2 separate regions of the Homo sapiens genome follow, and region 1 is linked to region 2. Evidence: promoter capture Hi-C in 16 types of primary human blood cells and fetal thymus (Javierre and others, 2016). All regions are on one chromosome and are shown on one strand. Each heading gives the region's core, a stretch centred on a gene start or on the middle of the fragment in contact. The rest is flanking DNA. Distances are from core to core; before and after follow the strand shown.

Region 1 (5,676 bases), core at 2,345-4,844, 540 kb before region 2:
GCATATAATAAGATGTTTAAGTATTAAACAAGCTAAATGATATTTACATTTTTATATACCAGATCAATGTACAGAACATTTGCATAATGTCAGAAAACATCCTTGTGTTCCTTCCCAATGAAAACTTTCCAGCCCCATTCCCACTGGAAGAAAATACTATTCTGCTTCCTGTCAATATAGGTTAGTTTTGCTTATTGTTGAAATTTGTATAGATAGAATACTATATGTTTGTTGTTGTTGTTGTTGTTGTTGTTGTTGTTTTGACAGGGTCTCACTGTCACCCAGGCCAGAGAGCAGTGGCTCGATCTTGACTCACTGCAACCTCTGCCTCCCGGGTTCAAGTGATTGTCATGCCTCGGCCTCCTGAGTAGCTGGAATTACAGGCTTTTGCCATCACACGCTACTAATTTTTGTATTTTTAGTAGAGACGAGATTTCACCATGTTGGCCAGGCCAATTTTGTAAGATGACTAGCTTCGAGCATTTAGAAAGATATTCACAGAAAGAATATTTTTCTCCTGTTCCTGTTTTCTCCTGTTCTTTCCCCACCCCAATGCCCAACAGTTGCTGTCTCTCAAATCACCCGATTTCTTTCATGTCTTTTTTCATGTTTGAAATGATCATGTTTATTCATCTGTTTACTTCTTGATTTCCTATCTCCCCAGATAAGAAACTCCTTGGGGATAGAGAACCTTCTGTCTTATTAACATTTGAATTTCTAACATCTAGGTTGGAGAAAAAAAATAGTTGTGACTTCATATTTCTCCTTCTTCTGCACTATGTTCTCGTTTTAATTTCAAATATGAAGTGAAGATGGACATTGTAACTGAAGCGTACTGATTTAGATATAGGCATCTTATGTTTAAACCATCAGGTAAGATGCCTAGAGTACTTGTGGATTCTTCAAAGCATTTCTCAGTTGTCCTTGTTTACAAATTGCTACCTTTGAAGGGAAACTGAGCTAAAGCATTGCTTAACATTTTTAAGCTCCTAGCACAGCAATTTCATATTCTCACATTGAAATGAAAGATGCTTTAAAAAATCTCTTTAAAAGGTGATTAGATAATGCTAAATACGCTTTAGAATTGTCAACATATTTCTAAGGTTTTTTATACCTCTATAGACAAAGGATGATGGCACTTTTTTGTTGTTCCTTTGCTACTTATTCAGTCATTCAACCAATATAAATGTCTTGCATGTTGTAGACATAAGACATACATCTTGCCCTTGTTAAGCTCAGATTCCAGAAGAAAGTTTATTCATAGCATGGGAAATGCCACGATAGAACCATATACAAGTTACTCTGGAAAGCCAGCAAACAGATGGGACTGAATGAGGCTGGGAAAGAAGAAAAGCACCACCATAGAACAGGTAATGTTGAAGCTGAGGCACAGAGAAGATTCATATACTCATCAGAAGAAAATGTGAGTGAAGAGTAGTTCTGACTGACAGAACTTGAGAAGACAAAAAGGTGATAAAGGAAAGTCAGCAGTTCTACCAATCATGTTAAATACCGAGAATTAATAGGCTGATAGACATGAGACAAGTCAGTAAATCTCCAAACAAAGATTAATGCCTACTAATTGAATAACTCTGGCCTAAGTGCTGGGCATGGGGAGAAGGTCTTGCCTAAACAGTTCTTGTCTTCTGGTCTATATTCTAATTGCTGATAGAAGACATAAATACTTTACTTGCAAGCAATGGTACAAGGCAATAATACACAGTGCAGTGTTGAGGAAAATGAGGACTTTATTGATTAGACCAGTTGGCTTCCAACCTCTTCATTACTCATTTCTACTTGTAGAAAGTGTTTGAGTATGCATGCCTCTCTATATATATTTATTTCCTTAGAAACAATGCATATATACTATTGTCTAGATACATTAAAATCAGTGAAGATTACTTTTTCCTTGTAGGTAAAAATAAGTATAAATAGAAAACCTAATACTTTTTCCATACCTTACTGGATCACCTTGTGTAATTCTTAGGGTGCACACACCTGCATAAAAAATGACTAGCTGTGAGCATTTTGCAAGGTATTCACAGAAAGAATATTTTTTCTCCTGTTCACAGCATGGCCTAGATTTGTTCCAGAAATGAGTGGCACTTTTAAGCAAGGATGAAAATGGGAGCAAAGTGTGTTCTAGAAACTGAACGAAGAAAATGCTTCCTAGACCTTTGATTAAAGGAGGACATTATATCAAGCTTAGTAAATCTAGATCAGGATTTCTCAAGTGTGATCTGTGGACCACTGGCATCAGAATGACTTGGGGAGATTTTAATGTAAACTGACTCCTGGGTCCCACCCAAGGCTCACTGAAGCAGAATATCTGGAAAAGGAGACAGGGAAACTGTAATAAGCTGAGTCTTTTTATCACTAAAGTTTAAAAACAAGCAATCTAAAAAATGGAGACTTCAAATGGTCAAACCAAAATTTTATGTATTTTATGAAAAGCTAAGGTGTCACAGAGATGACAGATATGTTAATACGGCTGGTTGCATTGGAGAATCCATTAGTCATAGACAATATAGAATTTATGAAAAATACTTACTTTCATTGTTTAGTTTTGCTAAGGAGAGGAAAATTTGCTATTTGGATCCTCACTCAAAGAATATTTTCTCTGAGAGTAGTGAATCCATTTACAATTAAGGTTATACTTCTTTTTTCTACAGACTATATGCCACATTATGCAGGAAAGTGGTTTTTGAGTCTTTGAGGACAACTTGCTCTCCAGGTAAATGAGTATAGACAAGAGTGATGCCCAATGAACAGTTCTGTGCAATAATTGTTAATATGGCTTAATCTTTAGTTGATGGCCCTTGTCACAGTTTTGGATGTTCTAGTTCAGTTATCTTATTCTTCTCTAAGACCAGTCATACAAGAGATAACTCAATTAGAACCAAAATTTCTGAATGATCCATTCTATCAGTGCATTTCATTACATATTGAAACTTCCACTCAAAGTTACAAACTAATATTTTACCATACATTAAAAAGAAACTGGATATTAGTTTATGCTGCTGTGCATGACACCATGACACAGTTCCAATTTGTATCCAAAAGCACCCTGATTGAATTGGAACACAAGAGCTTGTTTGTGGCTTAGAGGCCCCAGCTAAAGATATAGTTATTGAGTTTTAAAAAACTGAATGAGGGAATTGTTTTTAAAATCACATTTCTATTCCCTCCAAATGGAAACAATCTTCTTTTAAATTCTCATGACACTTTATGTATAACTCTCCTATAGTACATATTACTTTCCCACTGGTATCAATATACACACATCCCTGGAGAGAACTCTGTGATGATCCATGCTTTACAGGGGCAACATATGGCTTCATTCATCATCTCTGCTGAATAGTACCTTAAGAGACAAGTCTCAAAGGTAGCTATTTAATATTAAATGAGCTCTAAACACCTTCTCAAGACTCAGAGAGAGGCAATTCATACCTGCAAATATAGTACCTGCTTTTAGTTCTCATTTCTGACCCTCTAAGTTCTTATCATGGACCACAACTCTGTACCACCTAAGGCAAGGACCCAGTACCTTCCACATCACTCATTGTTTTAGGCCTTAATTGCAAACAACTAGTTAATATTTACTATGTTCATTTATATAGTTGAGGAAACTGATGCTTGTAGAATTTAAACAAGTTGCTCAGAGTCACACAACTTTAAACAGAAGGAGCCAATCTTTCAGACCAGATCTATTAGACCCAAGAGCCTAAGACAATGACTGTATTCCATCTGCCCTCCATTGTGGATTCTTGTCTATTTCTCCATTCCGGTCTCTGTCAAGTTCCTACATTTATATAACAAAAGCAAAATACATTTACAATATATTTATATATTTAAAAGATTTAACAATAGACCATAATGCTTGTTAAGAGAATATATTATTTATTAATTAAGCTATGCATTACCTTGGTTTATTCATATAAAGAGTGAAGAACTTTGGCTAAACTAATCAATCATGGAGAGACATTATGTTGTACCGCAGTGCCACAGTACTTGAGCATTTCAAGGGAATTTCTACGTAAAGTTCAAATATTTTTGGAAATAATTATAAGTATTATTTGTTAAGCATCAATTATATGTCCGGCATTGTACTATTTAGTTTCAGACATAATTAGACTCCAAAGAGACAGGGGCTAACAATGCCTATTTTAAATAAAAGAAAGCAAAGACCCAGGATAAAAGATGGTAGGTTTCTTGCCCCACGTAGCAGTTAGGAAGCAACTCTCAAATCTTTCTTCCTCCAAAGCCTTGTCCCTTCCATTAAACTACATTTCCTCATTCATATGTTCTCTGCTACCTTCCATCTAAATTCCTCCCTTTAAAAGGTGGAAAAAGATGCCATATCTGAACATTTATTACACATGAAGTCTCATAGCTCTCCTGTGCTCTCAACTTGCTATGTTGAAGAAGCTCAGTAAATCTTTTGTTTGCATCTACTTCCCTTTGACTAGGGCTGACATTTCTGAATTAGCTGGGCATCTAACACCTGAGTTAATCTAGTAATATTGTTCTACTCTATCTTTTTCTCTCTGACACATACTCCCAAATATTTATAATTCTGTGTTCCCCCATGAATGTGCAGCTACTTGTCTTTCTCTTGTTCTATTTTTAAAACTCATTTTTTCTGCTGATTCTTTCCTGATTGCATATCTTTATTTCACAAATATTGGCATTCTCCTCAGCACTAATACTGATGAAAACATACAGCACGAAACACATTGACAGCCTCCTTCCCATCACCTGGCCGGGAGAGGAGTCCACACAGCTTAAGCAAAATCCATTCTAGGGCTCAAGGAACACTGGCCACATAACAGCTTAATAATTCAAGCCCCTGGCAACCACACAACTAGAATGAGTTGTTATTTTCCCAAAGGGATTCAAATTATGCTTAACATGCATCACACAGGGAAGTATTTTACTGAATTCTCTCCTCTCTGACTGTGACCAAGAAAAAATAGAGGGGAAGAAAAGCTTGCTATTTTCGTGCTGGTGAAGGCTATATTTGGAGAGGAAGCTTGCGTTCTATTGGAGGCTAATTCTGGAGAAGATTACAGTGGAAATTAAGGATAACTAAGATGGAGGGCATTAAGGACATAAAATTTAAAATGTTATTTTCACCTATCAACAGCCACACCAGGAAGCACTAACACCAGCTATGTCACACTCCTTCAATGGCCTTTTGAAGATGCTATAGATTCTATATTAAAGACACAAGGCATTCACCAGTTTAAACATTCCCTTCCCTCATTTGGAAAACTGAAGTCTACTTTTTAAATATCATGCTTGCTTTGGAGAAAATGAAATATCCTGAGATGATAAATGAACAACAATTTACCACCTGAAGAAACAAGCCACACTGCCGCCAGAGCATTTTTCAGGAGAGGCGGAACATCCATTGATCATGCATATTTACTCCTGACATACCCAGACCACCTGTAAATCTCCTGGTCTGGACTGGAAAATAAAAAATGTTTGCCACACCGTTACACTTCTTCCAGATGAATGCTAACACTGTATGAACAGCACTTTACTTCGGAACAGATTTAACACTGAGGTTAACTGTTTTTTGTCTGTGAGAGGTGGAGGCAAGTGTTTTCTGTTCAGGACTTTATTGATGGAGAACTATGGGCCATGCAGGTATGATGGTGACTGTAGGAG
Region 2 (5,822 bases), core at 2,106-4,605:
TTTATGTTTTTCTCTACACTAGTTATTCTTATTCTAGTTAGCCATGCCTCTAACCTTTTTTCAAGGTTCTTAGCTTCCTTGCAATGGGTCAGAACATGCTCCTTTCGCTCGGAGAAGTTTGTTATTACCCACCTTCTGAACCCTACTTCTGTCAATGCATCAAACTCATTCTCCGTCCAGTTTTGTTCCCTTACTGGCGAGGAGTTGTGATCCTTTGGAGGAGAAGAGGCTTTCTGGTTCTTGGAATTTTTAGCCTTTCTGCTCTGGTTTCTCCCCATCTTTGTGGTTTTATCTACCTTTGGTCTTTTATCTACCTTTGGTCTTGATGTTGGTTTTGGTGTGGATGTCCTTTTTGTTGATGTTGATGCTATTCCTTTCTGTTTCTTGGTTTTCCTTCTAACAGTCAGGTCCCTCAGTTTCAGATCTGTTGGAGTTTGCTGGAGGTCCACTCCAGACCCTGTTCGCCTGGGTATCACCAGTGGAGGCTGCAGAACAGCAAATATTGCTGCCTGATCCTTCCTCTGGAAGCTTTGTCCCAGAGGGGCACCCACCAGATGCCAGCAAGAGCTCTCCTTAATGAGGTGTCTCTCAGCCCCTACTGGGAAGTGTCTCCCAGGCAGGCTACATGAGGGTCAGGGACCCACTTAAGGAGGCAGTCCATCCATTATCAGAGCTCGACCACCATGCTGGGTGAGCCACTGCTCTTTTCAGAGGTGTCAGCCAGGGACATTTAAGTCTGGAGAAGCTGTGCCCACAGTTGCCCCTTCCCCCACGTGCTCTGTCCCAGAGGGACGAGGGTTTTATCTGTAACTCCCTGACTGGGGCTGCTGCCTTTTGTTCAGATATGCCGTGCCCACAGAGGTGAAATCTAGAGAGGCAGTCAGCCTTGCTGAGCTTCAGTGGGCTCCGCCCAGTTCCAGTTTCCCGACAGCTTTGTTTACTCTATGAGCATAAAACCACCTACTCAAGCCTCAGCAATGGTGGATGCCCCTCCCCCTGCCAAACTCCAGCGTCCCAGGTCAATTTCAGACTGCTGCCCTTGCAGTGAGAATTTCAAGCCAATGGATCTTAGCTTGCTGGACTCCATGGGCATGGGACCCACTGAGCGAGCCACTGGAGGGAATCTCCTGGTCTGCCAGTTGTGAAGACCATGGGAAAAGCGCAGTATTTGGGCAGAAGCGTACTGTTCCTCCTGGCACAGTCTCTCATGGCTTCCCTTGGCTAGGGAAGGGAAATCCCCTGACACCTTGTGCTTCCCAGGTGAGGCGACGCCCCACCCTCCTTCGGCTAGCCCTCTGTGGGATGCACCCACTGTCCAACCAGTCTCAATGAGATGAACCAGATACCTCAGTTGGAAATGAAGAAATCACCCATCTTCTGCATCGATCTCACTGGGAGCTGCAGACCGGAGTTCCTACTAGGCCATCTTGGAAGAGTCCCTGGTTTTTCTTCTTGTGCTCCCATGTCCTCTTATTTATCACTTTAATGTGATTATTTTTGGTATTTCATTATTAAGTATTATATTGGCTTTGGATTTCTAAAAAATACTTGTTACCAAGTTAAGAAAGTCTGCTTTTCCCTTGGCACACCAGGAATTTTAATCAAAAGTAACGTTAACATTTATAAAATGTCCTTTAGCATCTACCAAGATTACATTAGCATATTTCCTAAATTTGAACAATTTTTGTACTCTTGAATAAATTTGATCAGGTAAAGTGTATTGCTCTTTTAGTATACTGTTGGATTTGATATTTCATAACAGACTTTTTATTTGTGCTTATTAGATAGATTGGCCCATGGTTTTGTGACATATTTATCAGGTTTATTGTATCAAAGTTATGATTTCTATAGCTTTGTAACAATTAAGTACTACAGAACTTAACTATTCGTCAGTATTTGGTAAAAATTTCTGAGAAAATGAACATGGCCCAGAGCCATTTTACAGTATTTTTTTTACAAAAGTTTCAACTTTTCTATGGATATTGATCTATTTTGGCTTCCTATATTTTATTCAGGCAAATTGGTTGTTTGTAGTTTCCTTAAAAATATCTATTTTAAAATTTTATACTCAGAAAAGTACAAAAATTTTATTTAAAAATTATAATTTCCTTTGGTTATACCTTTTCTGTTTTCTAATATTGTATTTGTGTTCTCTTAGGTTTCCTTTGGCTAGACTTGCTAGGGATTGATTGGTTTGTTTTGTTTTTATAACTTTTCAAATACAAGATCACTGTTTTTATCAATAAATTGTAATGTTTGGCTTTCTCATGTTTAAGTCATTGCTTTTACATTCTTTTACTTTCTTTTGATTTATTTTCTTCTTTTTAATTTCCTGAGTTATACATTTATGTTATTTTAAACAAAATTTTTCATAAGGTAAGATTTGGTTACAATTCACAAGATTATATTATGTTATCAGGATTCTTTTTTCCTCTTTGATACAAGAGTTATCTAGAAGACTATTTTTATTTCCAGGTGATTTTTAGAAATGCTTTATTTTGATGCTGATGTCAGTATTTATTGCATGGAGTCAAACATATATTTCCTATACAAAATTATTCATTTTCAAATATATTTCTAATTATACAAGTAGCACATGAATACATTTTTATTGTGAAAGATTTATATAATGTAGACAAAACTATTTCCTCTAACCCCATCTCTAGTGGCAACATTAGTTACTGGCTTATTGTATATCATTTCAGTCTCTTTTCTATTCATCTGTGTCCTCTCACCAGGAACTGGTACCATCCTGTACTTACTGTATGTAGCACACTGATCCATACATGCATAGGCATTGCTCCCACCTGCAGGCTGCTGCCTAGCTTGTGGCTAATACGGGGATATAGAGAAGCCAATTCATCTGGTTGCTCCTGCTGAAGTACACCAACTAATCACCTTCTTGATTACTTCTGATGCACTCCTGCTCATTGTATCTGCCAACCCAGAGCATGAAGTAACTCTTTTATAGAAGTTTTTCCTGCATGCAGTTTGACCATACATTTCTCCTTCAAGTGATTGTGTTTTCATCTTTCAGTTATTCAACATAATTTTGTGTAGTCAGTATTCATTTACAGTTACCAACACATTTACCCATCCAGTATTCTTCATTCCCTCCTTGAATTTCCATCTTTTCAAATGAGATCATTTTTACTTTTGCTAGTAGAAATCCCTTCAGCATTTCAGTGTAAAACTCCTAGCAATAAATTATGTGAATTTTTGTTTTTTGTTTACTTTTTGCTTCTTTTTGTTGCTTGTTTGTTTGAAAATGTCATCATTTAACGTTCATTTCTGAAGATTGTTTTTCACACGTTGGCCTTTAGTTTCTTTCAGTACTCTAGAGATAGCATTCCATTATCTTCTGGCTTCTATTGTTGCTATTAGAGACAGCTGCCAGTCTCATTGTTGCTCTTTTGTAGATAATGTGTCTTTTTTCTTCTGGCTGGTTTTTCCATCTTCTCTGTCTTTGGTTCAGCAGTTTTATTGTGAGTTGCATAATTGTGGTTTTCTCTATACTTATCCTGCTTGAGGGTTTGCTGAGCTTCTTAACCAGTGGGTTAAATGTATTTTATCTGCTTTAGAAAATTCCCAACCATTATCCCTTTGAATATTGCTTCTGCTCTATTTCTTTCTCCTTGCCCTCTGAAACTTCAGTTTTACATGGTAGACCTTTCATACTTGTCCTGTATGTCTCTTACATTTGTTTCTTATTTTTTCTCTTTCTTTTTTTCTTCCATGCTTCACTTTGTATATTTTTCATTGATATGTTTCCAGTTCACAAGTCTTGTATTCAATAGTGTCCAACCTATTGTTAAACTCATATATTGAGTTTTTAAATTTAATTTTGAAATAATTTACTTTGAAATATTTTTATCAGAAAAGTTGCAAGAACAGTAGAATGAACTCCCACATTCTCTTCATCCAGATTCCTCAGTTAATAGTTTCATATTTTCTCCATCTCTTTTTGTAAAGATGATAGATAGATAGATAGATAGATAGATAGATAGATAGATAGATAGATGTGTATTTTCAAGGATATGATACCTTTTTTGAATATTTTGAGAGCAAGTTAAGCAAGTTGAAACCTTTATGTCCTATCATCTGTAAATATTCCTATTACTACTTCTCCCAAAGACACTCTCCTACAGAGTAATTGCCAAGCCTTTCAAATCAGAAAATGGACAGCGATAAATACCAGCATTCAAACCACAGTTCATTATTATCCAACGTTCCAGGCTTATCTTGAAATTTCTCTACCTCCATCCTTGAATCATCCACTTTTACAAGGAGTCCTTGTTGTTTGTTATGGAAATTGGAACCTACATACTTGTTATTAATTGCTACTGGGGTGTCATTGCACCTAGGTCCTCTCCATGGTCAGAATTTTGAAATATATGTATGTATTCATGGATATGTACACAGACATATTCACTTGCATTGATAATTTTTTTTGTTTCTTTCCTCCCTTCCCTTTCACTCTTTCCTTCTTTCCTTCCTTTTGCTCTTTCCTTCCTTCCTTCTTCCTTCTTACCATAACAATAGCAATGAGTTATTTTTTTCGCTTCCCCTTTTCATATTTGTAAATTTGTTTTCCCACAGAGAGAAATCCAGCTTCCATTAGCTTCAATATAGATACTTTCTTGATCAATCCTCCTTTACATAATTAATTTCCTAAAAATGCTAGGTACTGCCATGGCCAACTCATCACTCCTGATTTCATCTCCAGGCAAGTTGTCACTTTTGAACTCTTCTCCCCACCAAACCCTGGTCTGTTTGATATGCCACTGCCTCCATGCCCCTGTCTCCACCTTCTGGCTGTTAGACACATTGTTAACTGTGCACCCCAACTTACTCTTACCTTCACCTCCCTGGTGCTTCTTCTGCTGAGCATACAACTGCCACCATATGTACCCCCTATACATGCTTCCTTGGACACCAGGCACTCTGCTGCCTCCACATGGCTTTCCCATTATGACTTCTTTTGCCCCTATGCACATCACTATCTGTATGCCCGCCACCCTACTTTCTTGGCTGTTGGACACACTGCTATCTCTACTGATCCTTTCCACTGCAGTTTTCTCCATATATTGATTTCTTAACTGACGATAGTATATTTTTTCAAATTTAGAATGCCTAAAGAAATCTTTTTTATAGGTTAGTTTTACTGAAAATTGTCCATTTCCTCATCAATTTTGCACTTTATTTTCTTAAACATATTCATAAAAATTATTTGTAAATTCTCATTTGCTGATTACAATATCTTGATCATCTATAATTGTGTTTCTATTGTGTGTGTTTTTTTCTCTTGATTATTGGGCAAATGAACTTGATCTTCCACATCTAGTAATTTAAAAAATGTTAGACATTATGTATAATAAAACCATAAAGGGTCCAGATGATATTGCCTTCCACCGAAAGTGTTCCCTTTTTCTTCTGTTGGGCAGGTAGAATAGCCTTTGATCACCTCAATCGAGTCAGAGATTATTCTGAATCAGAAGCTGGTTTCAGTTTTGCTAAGTGTACCTCCGATTCACTTCTGTTCTTAGGGTGTAGCCCTCCAGGGCTTTCAATTGAGAGCCTGGTGGATCTCTGTCTTCCAGCCCTAAAAGATAACAGCAAGTTTTCAGTTTAGCTCTTTAACCTCCTGCTCCATAAAGCTTCAAAATTCAGCAACTCGCTTGAAAGGAAGACTGGCAATGTGTTTGGGACACTCTATAGTCTTCTGTGAAGAATAGAGATCTCTTTTGTTGTTTTCTTTGAGGGACAGCCTGTAGCTTTGCTCAGAATCTGTAAATATTCCCATCAAAAAACCACCTGTAAAT

The links. The method cuts DNA at HindIII sites, captures the fragments that hold promoters and counts their contacts. A CHiCAGO score of 5 or more calls a contact.
Region 1: a contact is called between a fragment that was not itself captured here and the fragment with the promoter of LINC01277 in region 2, in 1 of 17 cell types (fetal thymus). The highest score is 6.1, in fetal thymus.

The regions. Positions count from the first base shown.
Region 1 is chr6:142,495,593-142,501,268 of GRCh38, forward strand. No RefSeq gene overlaps it. Among named protein-coding and RNA genes, the nearest start is that of ADGRG6, 200 kb to the left of the region's middle. The HindIII fragment of the contact is 2,785 bases long and covers 2,203-4,987 here.
Region 2 is chr6:143,034,227-143,040,048 of GRCh38, forward strand. It overlaps LINC01277 (long intergenic non-protein coding RNA 1277), which reads right to left and starts at 3,356. Exons shown (of 3, transcript NR_038987.1): 1 at 2,763-3,356. RefSeq lists enhancers at 732-901, 5,614-5,683. The HindIII fragment of the contact is 5,129 bases long and covers 527-5,655 here.